Regions from separate parts of the Homo sapiens genome. Here region 2 is linked to region 1. Evidence: promoter capture Hi-C in human tissues and cell types (Jung and others, 2019). All regions are on one chromosome and are shown on one strand. The core of a region is centred on a gene start or on the middle of the fragment in contact, and the rest is flanking DNA. Distances in the headings are between cores, read along the strand shown.

The links. Contacts are between HindIII fragments. The study calls those that stand out against the background at their distance.
Region 2: a fragment that was not itself captured here is called in contact with the fragment with the promoter of B4GALT4 in region 1 in 1 of the 25 tissues and cell types used here (H1 embryonic stem cells).

Annotation. Positions count from the first base shown.
Region 1 is chr3:119,239,628-119,246,041 of GRCh38, forward strand. B4GALT4 (beta-1,4-galactosyltransferase 4) reads right to left here and starts at 1,251. Exons shown (of 8, transcript NM_003778.4): 1 at 1,223-1,251. The region is part of intron 3 of B4GALT4-AS1 (B4GALT4 antisense RNA 1); the gene reads left to right. RefSeq lists silencers at 938-1,417, 2,068-2,117. The HindIII fragment of the contact is 14,454 bases long and covers 1-3,371 here.
Region 2 is chr3:119,385,154-119,391,897 of GRCh38, forward strand. ARHGAP31 (Rho GTPase activating protein 31) reads left to right here. Exons shown (of 12, transcript NM_020754.4): 7 at 5,632-5,830. Among named protein-coding and RNA genes, the nearest start is that of ARHGAP31-AS1, 66 kb to the left of the region's middle. The HindIII fragment of the contact is 4,105 bases long and covers 814-4,918 here.

The DNA.
Region 1 (6,414 bases), core at 1-2,500:
TCTATCCACTTCCCCTTAGATTATGTAGTCAAACAGTTCAATCCAGGTCAGTACTTTTTCACAACGTATGTTTTCAATCTGATCAAAGCTATAGGTAGACGAAAGTTATTGCAATTTCATGGGGTTTACAATTTCCATAAAGAACAAACCTGCTCTAGAAGACAAAATTCCAAAAACTTCTGAACTATATCCAATCAAGCATTATCTCCTCTCCCAAGAGAGACCTTCCAGCACTCCCCGCCTGGGTCTCGGGAATAGCCCTCCCTTCTGAATCCCAGTTTCTCAATCCGGACCCTGAATCCTATTCATCCTGATCTCTCCTTGATTTTCTTGCATCTTAAAGGTGTTATTTTCCTTTCTTTAAAAATTTAAAAAAAAAAAAAAAAGCCACAACTCGCCTCCACGCTCAGATTACCATTTTCTTTTTCCTCCTTTTCATCACCAAACGGCTGAGGAGGTCTACCAGTACCCTCACCACCGCCACGTCCCCATCCCTCACCCACTCTGGAACACTTTGCAACAGTGTGCACACCCACCCACTGTTGATAACTACTCTCCTAAGGCTACCAACCCATAGGCCTCTCCTCGATGCAGAGTCCTTTGGACTTTGTCTGTTTTTTTTCAAACCAAGAATTAACAGCCCTTATCTAATGGAAGACAGAACATCAAGGGATACAGATCAACAAACACTGGATGGCTGTCTCCGAAGTCTTTTATAATCCAGGTGACCAACCCCTTTGGAGAAAGGTCAAAGGTCGCCGGCCCCTCGCAGGACTGGGGCTGGTGTCAGCTGATCAGTTTCCCCGTTGAAACGCTGGAGAAGGAGGGTTTCCAGGAAGAAGGGGCTTTTTCAGGTTGATGCACCCGGCGGAGAAGTGCTGGGGGCGACCCCGGAATCGTGACCTGGGGTATGAATGAGCCCTGGATTTTTTCCTACCCGGCAGCACCTCGTCTGGCTCCCCCGGCCCGCAGCAGAGGCGGCGCCGCGCGGAACGCCAGCACCTGAGCCGGTGCCTCCCGCCAGGCTCGGCCTCCGTAGGCCCCCGGCCCGGCCCACCGCTCCGGCTGAGGCGGGACTGCCCCACGGACGCCGCCACGTCATCCCCACGCCCGCCCCGCTACAGCCCTGGGACTGACCCCGGCCGTCGCCCGGCTACCCTCGCACGGCGCCCGTGTCCAGGGAACTGCATTTCCCGGGCGCCGGCGGAGCCAGCGTACTCACCCCGGAGGCGGCCGCGGCGAGCTAGCACTGCCCGCGGAGAGGGGAGAACGCGGAAAGCAGCTCGGGGACCGCCCCAGCCGCCCGGGAGGCGGCTCTTGAGTACGAGCTCCGCCTCCCGCCTTGGCCGGAGAGGCTGGTCCGCCCGGCTCTGCACGCGCCTGGCGCTCCACCCCCGCCAAATCGACCACACCGGGCGCTGGAAGGAGCACCGGGAGGGAAACGGAGGGTTGACGCCTCGGCCTCTGGGTGGCTTTAAAACCCTGTGCCAATAGTAGACTGGGTGCTGAGCGCTTCCCAAATTCCATCCCCTTAAATACTCACAAAGCAGTAGGAAAGAGATAGGGACCCTTCCATTTTACAGAGTGGGAAACTGAGACTTTAGAGAGGCTAATAAACTTAATCACCCTGCGAGATTTCAGCCCTCTCAACTGCAAAAATGATAATAATAATAATAATATTTTTCCCATGTTGCAGGTCTGAGAATATTAAATGATTTTTTTAAATCCGTATTTCTTCAAAGATATTATTACAGAAAGCAAAGACAATTATATTTACACTAAAGATTTGAGTGAAAAATTATGGTAGGCTCTGTTTAGGCAGTCAGGATAGCTAGATTCTCTAATGCAGTCTCCCACTGCACTCACGGGAAAGTAGTAGATTCTCCAAGAACCACACATCCACTCCACCCAAAAAGGAACAAACCATAGCTAGAGCCAGTGCTGGGCTCATTAAGCTTCATAGCAGGAAATCTGAGGCTATACTGAGGCCGCATAGGCCCAATGTAGGCCCTTGGAAGCTGGAAAAGAGGGCCACCTAGTGGCAGTTGAGGATAGGTCAGTGAAATAGGTCAACACTGCTCCTGAACAAGGTCCAGTGTGAAACTTATTTTTTTGTGTTCCCTTTGTAACATGCTGTAAGGGTGTATAACCACATTTAGTGAAAAAGGACATTACTGGATTTCATCCAGTGGCGTTATACAATCAGTTACTTATACCCACATAGTCCCCAGGTCTTGAGCATATGATGCCTGGAAGCATAATATATACCTTTTGCAAGAATCACTCAGCTTTTCCCCTCCCCCTCCCCCTCTCTGTCTCCCTCCCCATCTCCCTCCCCCCTTTGCACGGTCCTCGTCTCCCCTTTGCATGGTCTCCCTCTGATGCCGAGCCGAGGCTGGACTGTACTGCCGCCATCTCGGCTCACGGCAGCCTCCCTGCCTGATTCCCCTGCCTCAGCCTGCCGAGTGCCTGGGATTGCAGGCGCGCACCGCCACACCTGACTGGTTTTCGTATTTTTTGGTGGAGACGGGGTTTCGCCGAGTTGGCCGGGCTGGTCTCCAGCTCCTGACCGCGAGTGGTCTGCCAGCCTCGGCCTCCCGAGGTGCCGGGATTGCAGACGGAGTCTCGCTCACTCAGTGCTCAATGTTGCCCAGGCTGGAGTGCAGTGGCTTGATCTCGGATCGCTACAACCTCCACCTCCCAGCCGCCTGCCTTGGCCTCCCAAAGTGCCGAGATTGCAGCCTCTGCCCTGCTGCCACGCCGTATAGGAAGTGAGGAGCGTCTCTGCCTGGCCGCCCATCATCTGGGATGTGGGGAGCCCCTCTGCCCAGCCGCCCAGTCTGGAAAGTGAGGAGCGCTTCTTCCCGGCCGCCACCCCGTCTAGGAAGTGAGGAGCGTCTCTGCCTGGCCGCCCATCATCTGGGATGTGGGGAGCGCCTCTGCCCCACCACCCCGTCTGAGAGGTGAAGAATGCCTCTGCCCGGCGGCGACCCGTCTAGGAACTGAGGAGTGTCTCTGCCCCGCCGCCACCCCGTCTGGGAGGTGAGGAGCGTCTCTGACTGGCCGCCCTGTCTGAGAAGTGAGGAGCCCCTCCGCCGGGCAGCTGCCTGGTCCGGGAGGTGGGGGGCAGCCGCCCAGCCAGCCGCCCCGCCCGGGAGGTGGGGGGGCAGCCCCCGCCTGGCCAGCCGCCCCGCCCGGCAAGTGGGGGGCAGCCCCCGCCCGGCCAGCCGCCCCGTCCGGGAGGTGGGGGGCGCCTCTGCCCAGCCGCCGCCCCGTCTGGGAGGTGGGGGCCCCTCTGCCCGGCCGCCGCCCCGTCTGGGAGGTGGGGGGCCCCTCTGCCCGGCAGCCCCGTCTGGGAAGTGAGGAGCCCCTCTGCCCGGCCACCACCCTGTCTGGGAGGTGTACCCAACAGCTCATTGAGAACGGGCCATGATGACGATGGCGGTTTTGTCCAATAGAAAAGGGGGAAATGTGGGGAAAAGAAAGAGAGATCAGATTGTTATTGTGTCTGTGTAGAAAGAAGTTGACATAGGAGACTCCATTTTGTTCTGTACTAGGAAAAATTCTTCTGCCTTGGGATGCTGTTAATCTATAACCTTACCCCCAACCCCCTGCTCTCTGAAACATGTGCTGTGTCCACTAAGGGTTAAATGGATTAAGGGCAGTGCAAGATGTGCTTTGTTAAACAGATGCTTGAAGGCAGCGTGCTCGCTAAGAGTCATCACCACTCCCTAATCTCAACTACCCAGGGACACAAACACTGCGGAAGGCGGCAGGGCCCTCTGCCTAGGAAAACCAGAGACCTTTGTTCACATGTTTATCTGCTGACCTTCCCTCCACTATTGTCCTATGACCCTGCCAAATCCCCCTCTCCGAGAAACACCCAAGAATGATCAATAAATACTAAAAAAAAAATAAATTTAAAAAAAAAAAAGAGAATGTAGGCCAACAATAAGCCACAGGATAACATCTCTGTCTGCCCAAATCACATTATGCTGAGGAAGTTTAATAATAAAGGAGAATAATAAAGGAGCCAAGCAAGTTAATCTAAAAAAAAAAAAAAAAAAGAATCACTCAGCTTTTCTATATTTGGTAGCTGGTAGGTTATTAATTGGAGAAGTTGGGTTATTGCTTTCAGTAAGTGTAGGAAAGCAAGTAGCAGTGATATCTACAAAATTAAAGATAGCTTTCCAATCTGCTTTTGAGGTTTTAGGGTGGCTTTCATTTCACAGAGAGGCATTGGCATTAATAAAATTGTTTCCTAGGGGTTTTTTTTTTGGCATCAGTCCAGAAACCCAACAGTTGCTCTAGTTTTTCTTGTTAGAGCATGAGCCTTAGCTAAAGCCATCTATAAATTATGGTCCCATGGATTTCCCAGCAGGAAATATGGAAAAAATAGAAAAAAAGATAAGATAGTCATGATAGCAGAGAAGTCTTGATCCATGATCTTGAGAAAGCTGTCCATGTCTAGGATGCCATCTGCTTCTGGGGAGAAACTTCCCTACCTTAAGATCTCCAACAGGTGTATAATTCCAAGAGTTTGAAGGGGCTCTTTTGAGTTACAAGGTATGGACCAAAACTCGAGGCCCTGAAGTTTTACTGTGGGTGGTGAGAGAAGTACATGATATAATCTCTTCTAATGGGATACAAGAGCAGTTTTTCTCAGATGGGATGTTATTTCCAGAAGACTCAATCTCTGAGTTCTAGATTGTGAAAGGTTGGTTGTACTCAGTGTATCACAAAAGGCTTTTACCTGGGGAAAACACACTTTCATATAATGGATTAAAGCTTTGCAGTATTTAGTTACAGCAAAGCTTATAAGAGCAGGAGATACATGAGAGTCTATTATTAAGGATATAGGTCTTCCCAGAACTAGTTTTTTGTCTACCCCATGATGAGTAATGGAGTACAGAGTTTTTAATAATGGAAGATTTAAGGACTCAGGAAGAACCAGGTGGCCATATGGGGCCTCCATGAGTCCACACTTAGCAATAAATTTACATCCTTTTAAATATGTTTTGGTTACCTAATGTTAAATAACAAGTTAATGGGTGCAGCACACCAACATGGCACATGTATGCATATGTAACTAACCTGCACGTTGTGCACATGTACCCTAAAACAAAGTATAGTAAAAAATTAAAAATAAAAAAAATATGTTTTGGTTTGTCTATCTGTTCTAAGATGGCAGGTAGTAGGCAGTGCTAGTGTGCCTCTCCCACTTGGAAGGACAGAACAGTGTGTAGCAATTAACACTGTGAACTTTTATTCCAAGAACCACTGCAGGAAGTTACCAGGAAATCAAAAGAATTCGCAGATCCTATGAAAGGAGCACACCACAGCAAAGTCTGTGAGACAGGCAAAAAACTGAATTCTCAGTGTAGGAAAAGGGGAGAGCCTGCCTCTGAACACACATTCCTACTGTGGAATCTGAAAATCCAGATGATGGGAGAAGGCTTTAGCCTTACCTAGAGCTGGAATGGACTTAGGGAGCAGCACAAAATACAAAAGTAGAAGCAGCAGCAAGAAGAGCCTTGGAGGCATTCTCAGTCTCCAGCTTGAGCCCAGGGAAGCCATCCCTGACCATATCTAACAGGGGCCCTCAGGGAAGGCAGCCACCAAACTTAGGAAGGAGTCACAGAGTGAAATAAGCTACCAACTGAGTTTTGTGGTAATTTCAAGTGGGCATGAGCACCCTTGAACAGAATCCAGGGGTGGGCGGACAAATGGAAACTAATGCAGATACAAGGGCAGAAGCTGGGCACCCAGCATTGCAGGCAGATGGGGAGGGGTGTGACCTGAAAGCCATGCTTTCTTCCTCAGCAGGGAAGCTCATGGCCCAGGGCAGGTCTGAGTTCTACACACCAGCTGCCTGGATCTAAACTCAGTGCTGTTAGTGGGGCACCATGGGAGCAAGACTGGCCTCACCAACTCTGTGGGAGCTGGATGAGGACTTTCACTATGAGCTAATCCCCACTCCCCTTGCAAACTCTACTGCACAGCAGAAGCAGCCATACTCTCCTCTAGAACATAACCCCATTGGCCTGAGATCCACCCCTCCTATCCCCCAGCAGGCCATGGCAGGCCTTGCCCAGGGAGAATCTGAACTCAGGCCCGCCCAACCCTGCCCCGACCTGATGGTATTTATCTACCTGCCTTGTAGCTTAACACAAAAGACATAAACTCTTGAGAGCCTTATGGCCCTGCCCATTGCCTGGGAAACCAGAATACTTCCCCTAGACAACTTAGGCCAAGCTCAAATGTCACTGCTACTACCACAGCTGGTGCTCTCTTGCAAGTGTCCCCTCCTGGCTGGAAGCCAGCCAACTCAGGCCATTACAGCAACTCTTGGCAGAATAACGCTTCTTCCAGGAAGGAGAAAACAACAGCTAATACCACTCACTGCAACACCCT
Region 2 (6,744 bases), core at 1,616-4,115, 150 kb after region 1:
CTGACCTCAAGTGATCTGCCTGCCTTGGCTTCCCAAAGTGCTAGGATTACAGGTGTGAACCACTGTGCCTAGCTGACTGTTTTTTTTTTCTTAGCATATGTTTTCAAGGTTTACCAATCTTGTTGTATATATCAGTACTTCATTCCTTCTTATGGCTGAATAAGATTCAGTTGTATAGATATACCACATTTTTATCCATTCCTTAGTTTGGGTTGTTTCTGCTTTTTGTGATTATGTATAATGCTGCTGTGAACATTCACATACACGTTTTTGTTTGAATATACGTTTTCAATTCTCTTTATTATATATGTAGGAGTGGCTGGCCTTTCTTTTTTATTTCAACTCTCCAGTTATAGATTTTTTTCTTTTAAACTATATAAAAACCTTTTTGAAAGTAAAAGAGAAGTAATATGCATACATTTATTCATTCACCCTTTTGAGCCCACAAAAAATTTATTGGGGATTTACTCTACAGCAGGAACTGTTGTAGGTATTCCACATGCAGCATTTCATTGATTTATTACAGCAAACATGATAAAGTTGTTATCAACCTTATTTTATACATGAAGAACCAGAGAACCAGAATAGCTTAGTAACTTCCCAAAGCCACCTAGTAAGTAATTCGCTGCGTGTGGACTACTGAACCCAAATCTTTTAGCCCATGCTCTTTCCTTAACTCTATTCTGCCTCTGTGAGGAAAAGAATATGAAAATAGATAACTAAATCATTGTGGAGAACTAGGGTTTTTGGGAAATGTTCTTCTGGACAGCAAATCCCATCCATGACTGTTAATGTTAAGGCTGTTCCTAATTCCAACCTGAAAATGCCTTTTCTCTTTATGGCTATTGCCTTAACCATCTTTTTGTCCTGCATATTAAAATCCAGTTTACTCTTTAGCCTTTAACTCTTCATTGCCTCCAGTGCTTATTATTCACATACATTTCATTTAAAGGTTCTTATTATAAATTCTTACTGACTTCAATAAATTGCCATACTTAATATTTACACAAAATGGAATAAGCCCTATTCTCTGGAATTTTAGATTTGGACAGAGTTCTGCTTCAAACTGAAAAGATTTTAGAAGTTTTCTTAGTCCATTTGGGCTGCTATAAAAAAAATACCATGAACTGGTTAGCTTATAAGCAATAAACCTATTTCTCTCACTTCTGGAGGCTGGGAATTTCAAGATCCAAGGGCCGGTAGATTCAGTGTCTGGTGAGGGCCCATACACCACAGTCAGCACCTTCTCACTGTGTTCTCACATGGGGAAAGGTGAAACAAGCTCCCTTGGGCCTCTTTTATAAGATTACTAATCCCATTCATTAGGGCTCCACCCTCATGACCTAATCACCTCCTAAAGACCTCACCTCTTAATTCTATTGCTTTTGTAGGGACCAGCCCTACAGGGTCAGTGGGTCTCTCCCTGTGTGCGGCGACGAGAGAGTGTAGAAATAAAGACACAAGACAAAGGGATAAGAGAAAAGACAGTTGGGCCCGGGGGACCACTACCACCAATGTGCGGAGACCAGTAGTGGCCCCAAATGTCGGGCTGCGCTGTTATTTATTGGATACAAGGCAGAAGGAGCAGGGTAAAGAATGTGAGTCACCTCCAACGATAGGTAAGGTCACGTGGGTCACGTGTCCACTGGACAGGGGGCCCTTCCCTGCCTGGCAGCTGAGACAGAGAAGGAGAGGAGACAGAGAGACAGCTTATGCCATTATTTCTGCATATCAGGGACTATTAGTATTTTCACTAATTTACTACTGCTATCTAGAAGGCAGAGCCAGGTGTACAGGATGGAACATGAAGGCAGACTAGGAGTGTGACCACTGAAGCACAGCATCACAGGGAGATGGTTAGGCCTCCAGATAACTGCGGGCGAGCCTGACTGATGTCAGGCCCTCCACAGGAGGTGGAGGAGCAGGGTCTTCTCTAAACTCCCCCGGGGAAAGGGAGACCCCCCTTTCCCGGTCTGCTAAGTAGTGGGTGTTGTTCCTTGACACCTTTTGCTACCGCTGGACCACAGTCCGCCTGGTAACGGGCGTCTTCCCAGACGCTGGCTTCACCGCTAGACCAAGGAGCCCTTCTGCTGGCCCTGTCCGGGCATAACAGAAGGCTCGCACTCTTGTCTTCTGGTCACACCTCACTATGTCCCCTCAGCTCCTATCTCTATATGGCCTGGTTTTTCCTAGGCTATGATTATAGAGCGAGGATTATTATAATATTGGAATAAAAAGTAATTGCTACAAACTAATGATTAATGATATTCATATATAATCATATCTAAGATCTATATCTGGTATAACTATTCTTGTTTTATATTTTATTATACTGGAACAGCTCGTGTCCTCTGTCTCTTGCCTCGGTGCCTGGGTGGCTTGCCGCCCACAGCTTTGAGGATTCTATTTTAACATATGAATTTTGAGGGGACAGAAACATTCACAGCATAGCAGAAGGCATTGAATCCAATACTTTTATTTGATAGATGAGAACACTGAGGCCAAAGAGATTGTGATATCTCTAATATTCACTAAAAAATAAATGTGTATTGAATATCTCCTATGAACTAGGTGCTGTTCTAGACACTGGAGACACATCAGTGCCCAAAATGACAGAAACTCCGTGGCATAGAACTATGGTCTGGTTGGGAAGACAAGGATATATAAGTTTACAAATAAATATATTATCACTTCAAAGACAATAAATACCAAGAAGAAAACATAGCAGAGTAAGGCAATAGTCAGTGACTTGGGGGTATAATTTTGGGACAGAGTGGTCAAGGTTTCTAGAGAAGTGATCTTTGAAGTGAGACCTGAATGACATGGGGAACCAGGCATGTGAGGATCTATGAGCAAATGTTCCAAAGACAGAGAACAGAGGTTGTAAAAGCTCTGAGGCAGAAAGCTTGAAGTGTTGCAGAACATTGGCCAATGTGGCTGGAACCAATGTGGCCTTCAAAGTGGGGTGCCCCACTCTGGTGGGTACCAAAGACCAAAGTAATGAGTTATGGGTGTTGGGAGAAACTGTTCAAATTTCTGTTTTCCATTTATTTTTGTCTTATACTGTGTAATTTCTATTTTTTTTATATATTTGCTATTACGCATGACACACAGTGGCATATATGTATACATATAATATGTATATGTATAATTTTTATATATATATATATATGTACACATTTTAAAATGTTTGCTATATTTTTGTAGACTACTGGGCCAGTGGGCAAACAGGAAAGGGGAAGCAGATGAAATATCCTTTTAGGTCATGCGAAGAGACGGGTTTGTTCTCAGTGCCTTGGGAAAGCATTGGAGGGTTTTGAGCAGGCCAGTGCAGGATCTAAGCCTTCCAGCTCCTGTGTGGAGGAGAGGCTGAGAGGCTGGAAGCGGGGAGACCAGTTAAGAAGCTATGGCAAAAGCAGATGGGAAATCATGGCAGCCTCTACCAGCATCTTAGCAGTGGGAAGGAGGAAAGTGGCTGGGTTCCGGATGTATTTTGGAGGTAGAGTTACGAGCCTTGCTTATAGGCTGTCTATGGAAGGAGAGATGCATTAAGGAAAAGAATAAATAAGAAATAACAACCCCAGGCTTTAGCTTGGGCACTGGGTGGTCCGTGGTGCCACCTACTGACACAAAGAAGATGAGAGGAGGTACCACAGTAGAGCAGAGGAGCACAGATCGCAAGCTCTGTTACAAAATGTAAAGTTAGAGATGCCTAAGCAGGGGCCAGGCGCGGTGGCTCACACCTGCAATCCCAGCATTTTGGGAGGCTGAGGCGGGCAAACCACTTGAGGTCAGGAGTTCGAGACCAGTCTGGCCAACATGGAGAAACCCCATTACTATTTTAGAAAATACAAAAAATTAGCTTGGCATGGCGGTGGGTGCCTGTAGTCCCAGCTACTCAGGAGGCTGAGGCAGGAGAATCACTTGAACCCAGGAGTCGGAGGTTGCAGTGAGCCGAGATTGCACCACTGCAGTCCAGCCTGGGCGACAGAGCGAGACTCCGTTTAAAAAAAACAAAAAAACAAAAACTTAACCAACTAACAAACAAACAAAAAAAACCATCTAATCAGAGACACTAAGCGGGCCTTAGTCCTAGGAGCCTGGAGCTGACAGGAGAGGTGGGCACTAAACTTGGTCTTCTGACCCTGCAGTTTATGTTCTTCCCATTGTTGCAGTTGCTCCCAGAGTGAGTTAATGTATGTATTTATTTTTATGTATTTTTAAGCAAATACATAATCACAAATAATCTAGAATATGTGAGAGTCTTTGAACAAATATTCAAAGTAGATTAAATTTAAATATTTTTAACCCTCTTTGGATCGGGTCAAAAGACTGTGTTAAAGTCAGAAAGTTTACTGAAAAGTTTTCAGGATCCCAGGCTATATTTAACAGTAGTCCTACTGAATTAGTGCCATCCATGCTAGTCCTCCCCAGAAACACCCCATTGTCACATAACAGTTGTCTTCATTTTCTGTGAGGCCCTTTTTCAATGGTTTTACTTCTTCCCACCCACAGAGGGTCATGCTCTGCAAAGAGAAATAGTGCCATCAATCTGCTTTCTGAAAATACAGTGAGTCCTCCACCAAAAGTAATTTCAATTGGTCTAAATTATCCTTGAGTCTTTTTACTATTTCAGAAGTCATAGAAAACTGGCAAGGTCACCAAAAACTAAATAGAAGCAAACTTAGACTATTTTTTAACTTAGATCAGCTTCACAACCTCAGCACTATTGATATTGAGTGCTGGATGATTCTTATTGTGAGGCACTGCTCTGTGCATTGCAGGACGCTTAACAGCATCCCTGGCCTTTGCCTACTAGACACCAGTAGCACTGCCACACACATTGATGACCATCAAAAATATCTCCAGACATTGCCAGATGTCCCTGGGTGTGGAGGGGAGTGGTACACAAAATCACCTCAAGGTGAGAACCACTGACTTGGAGAAAAGAGATAATCCTGTGCATCAGCGATTGTCATCATCACTTCCATTCTTTAAAAAAAAAAATGCCATAGAATAGGAAAGGATCAGCTACATACACTAGGAGACAACTGGGTAGTGAGTAAAAAAACCACAGGAAATAGTATAGGCTGTAAAATATCTTCCTGTGGCAGGGATATAAGCCTAGATGATCTGAAAAGTAGAGGTTCTAACTTGAAATGGCCTTGGAGCATGTGCTGTCCAGCTGTGGGGAGGAGAGGCAGCCTCCTGCCCTACTCTGGCAGTTAGGCTATCTCTGTGGCTGGACAGACATATTCCCATCTGGCCGAAGCACTGGGCAGAGTTTTCAGGAGTAAAGACTCATTGTTGTCACTCTGGCTCACAGTGAGTGTTCAATAAATGTTTGTTATAGGAATGAATGAATGGATGAGTGAGTGGTCCCTCTCTGAAAAGTATGGAAGGTGCAGCTACCTCCTGAAGCCCCTGTTTGTCCTCTGGCAGGTCTGGCCAGGACAGTCATCAGTTTCCGGTGTGCAGCCTCAGCCCCAGGCCCCACCATGCCCAAGAGAAGCCAGGGTGGCACTCAGCCCCCATCATAGGATCAAGAATGGAGGGACTGTGGATGGGGAATCTGGATGGATGTGATGGGCAGGCCTCCTCCAACACTGAGCTCTTCCATTGCCTTTACAGAAAACCGGCCCATCATGAAGAGCCTGACCTTGCCAGCCCTCTCCCTGCCCATGAAGCTGGTGAGCCTTGAGGAAGCTCAAGCCCGCAGCCTGGCCACTAACCATCCTGCTCGCAAGGAAAGGAGGGAGAACAGCCTGCCTGAGATTGTCCCTCCCATGGGCACCCTCTTCCACACTGTCCTTGAGTTACCAGACAACAAGTAAGTGGCACTCTTTTAAAAAATTCTAGGAGATGTGTGGTTGAAGAGGAAAGAGGAGGAGAGGTATACAGTCTCAGGACCAAGATGGCAGTGTGGGTTGGAGGTACCGTCTGGGTTGGGGTTTAAGGAAACATTCCAGAAGAGAAGGGAGCTGTCTCTACAACTCTCTCACCAGCAGTTGATGCCTTTATGCATGCACTGCCCCAAAGTTAACAAGACCCCTGATCTCCCATTGATCAAGCACCATTTTGGGAGAGTATTATAGGGGTCACATCACAAGTCATGACTGAAATTCCTGTCTTTTTAGTGTAGACAAATCAGGCTTGGTGTTTACAAAAGGAAGTTTACTAAAAACAAAACTTCGACCCCCTCCCCGACCCTCCATCCCCACGTGACGATACAAAAAGCATAGGGTTGACAAATGGTGTCACTAGGCTGATAGCTCTGGGTGAGCAGCAGTTGGGGACATGCAAACCTGGCATCCTTGTCAGAGTCTGTCAGAGCCTTCCCTCATCTCCAAAATAAATCAAGCATTGTTTTCATTGGTAGAATATTTTCTTTCCTCATTTCTCCCTGTCACTTCTTCTGTTGCCACCTGGGTCTCTACCCCCCCCTCCCCCCCGCCGTCACTCATATCCCATAGTAGAAAGAAGCGGGGATTGAACAGGAGTCCTAAATTCTAAGCAGATTGTAGGTGGAGGGGCTGAAAGGCAACCTTTCCATTGAAGGTGTCATTCCCACTCTTTGGTCAGTGAAAACAGGTATGAAAACAGGCACCTCTTGCACAGGCTGCCACCTTGCACAACTAGGAGATGCCAGTCATGCTGCATGCTATAGGAATGGCATATCTGGAACTCACCTGGTGAGAAACCCATCTGTGTGCTGGAAAATATATGGATCGTGTTTTCTTGAGA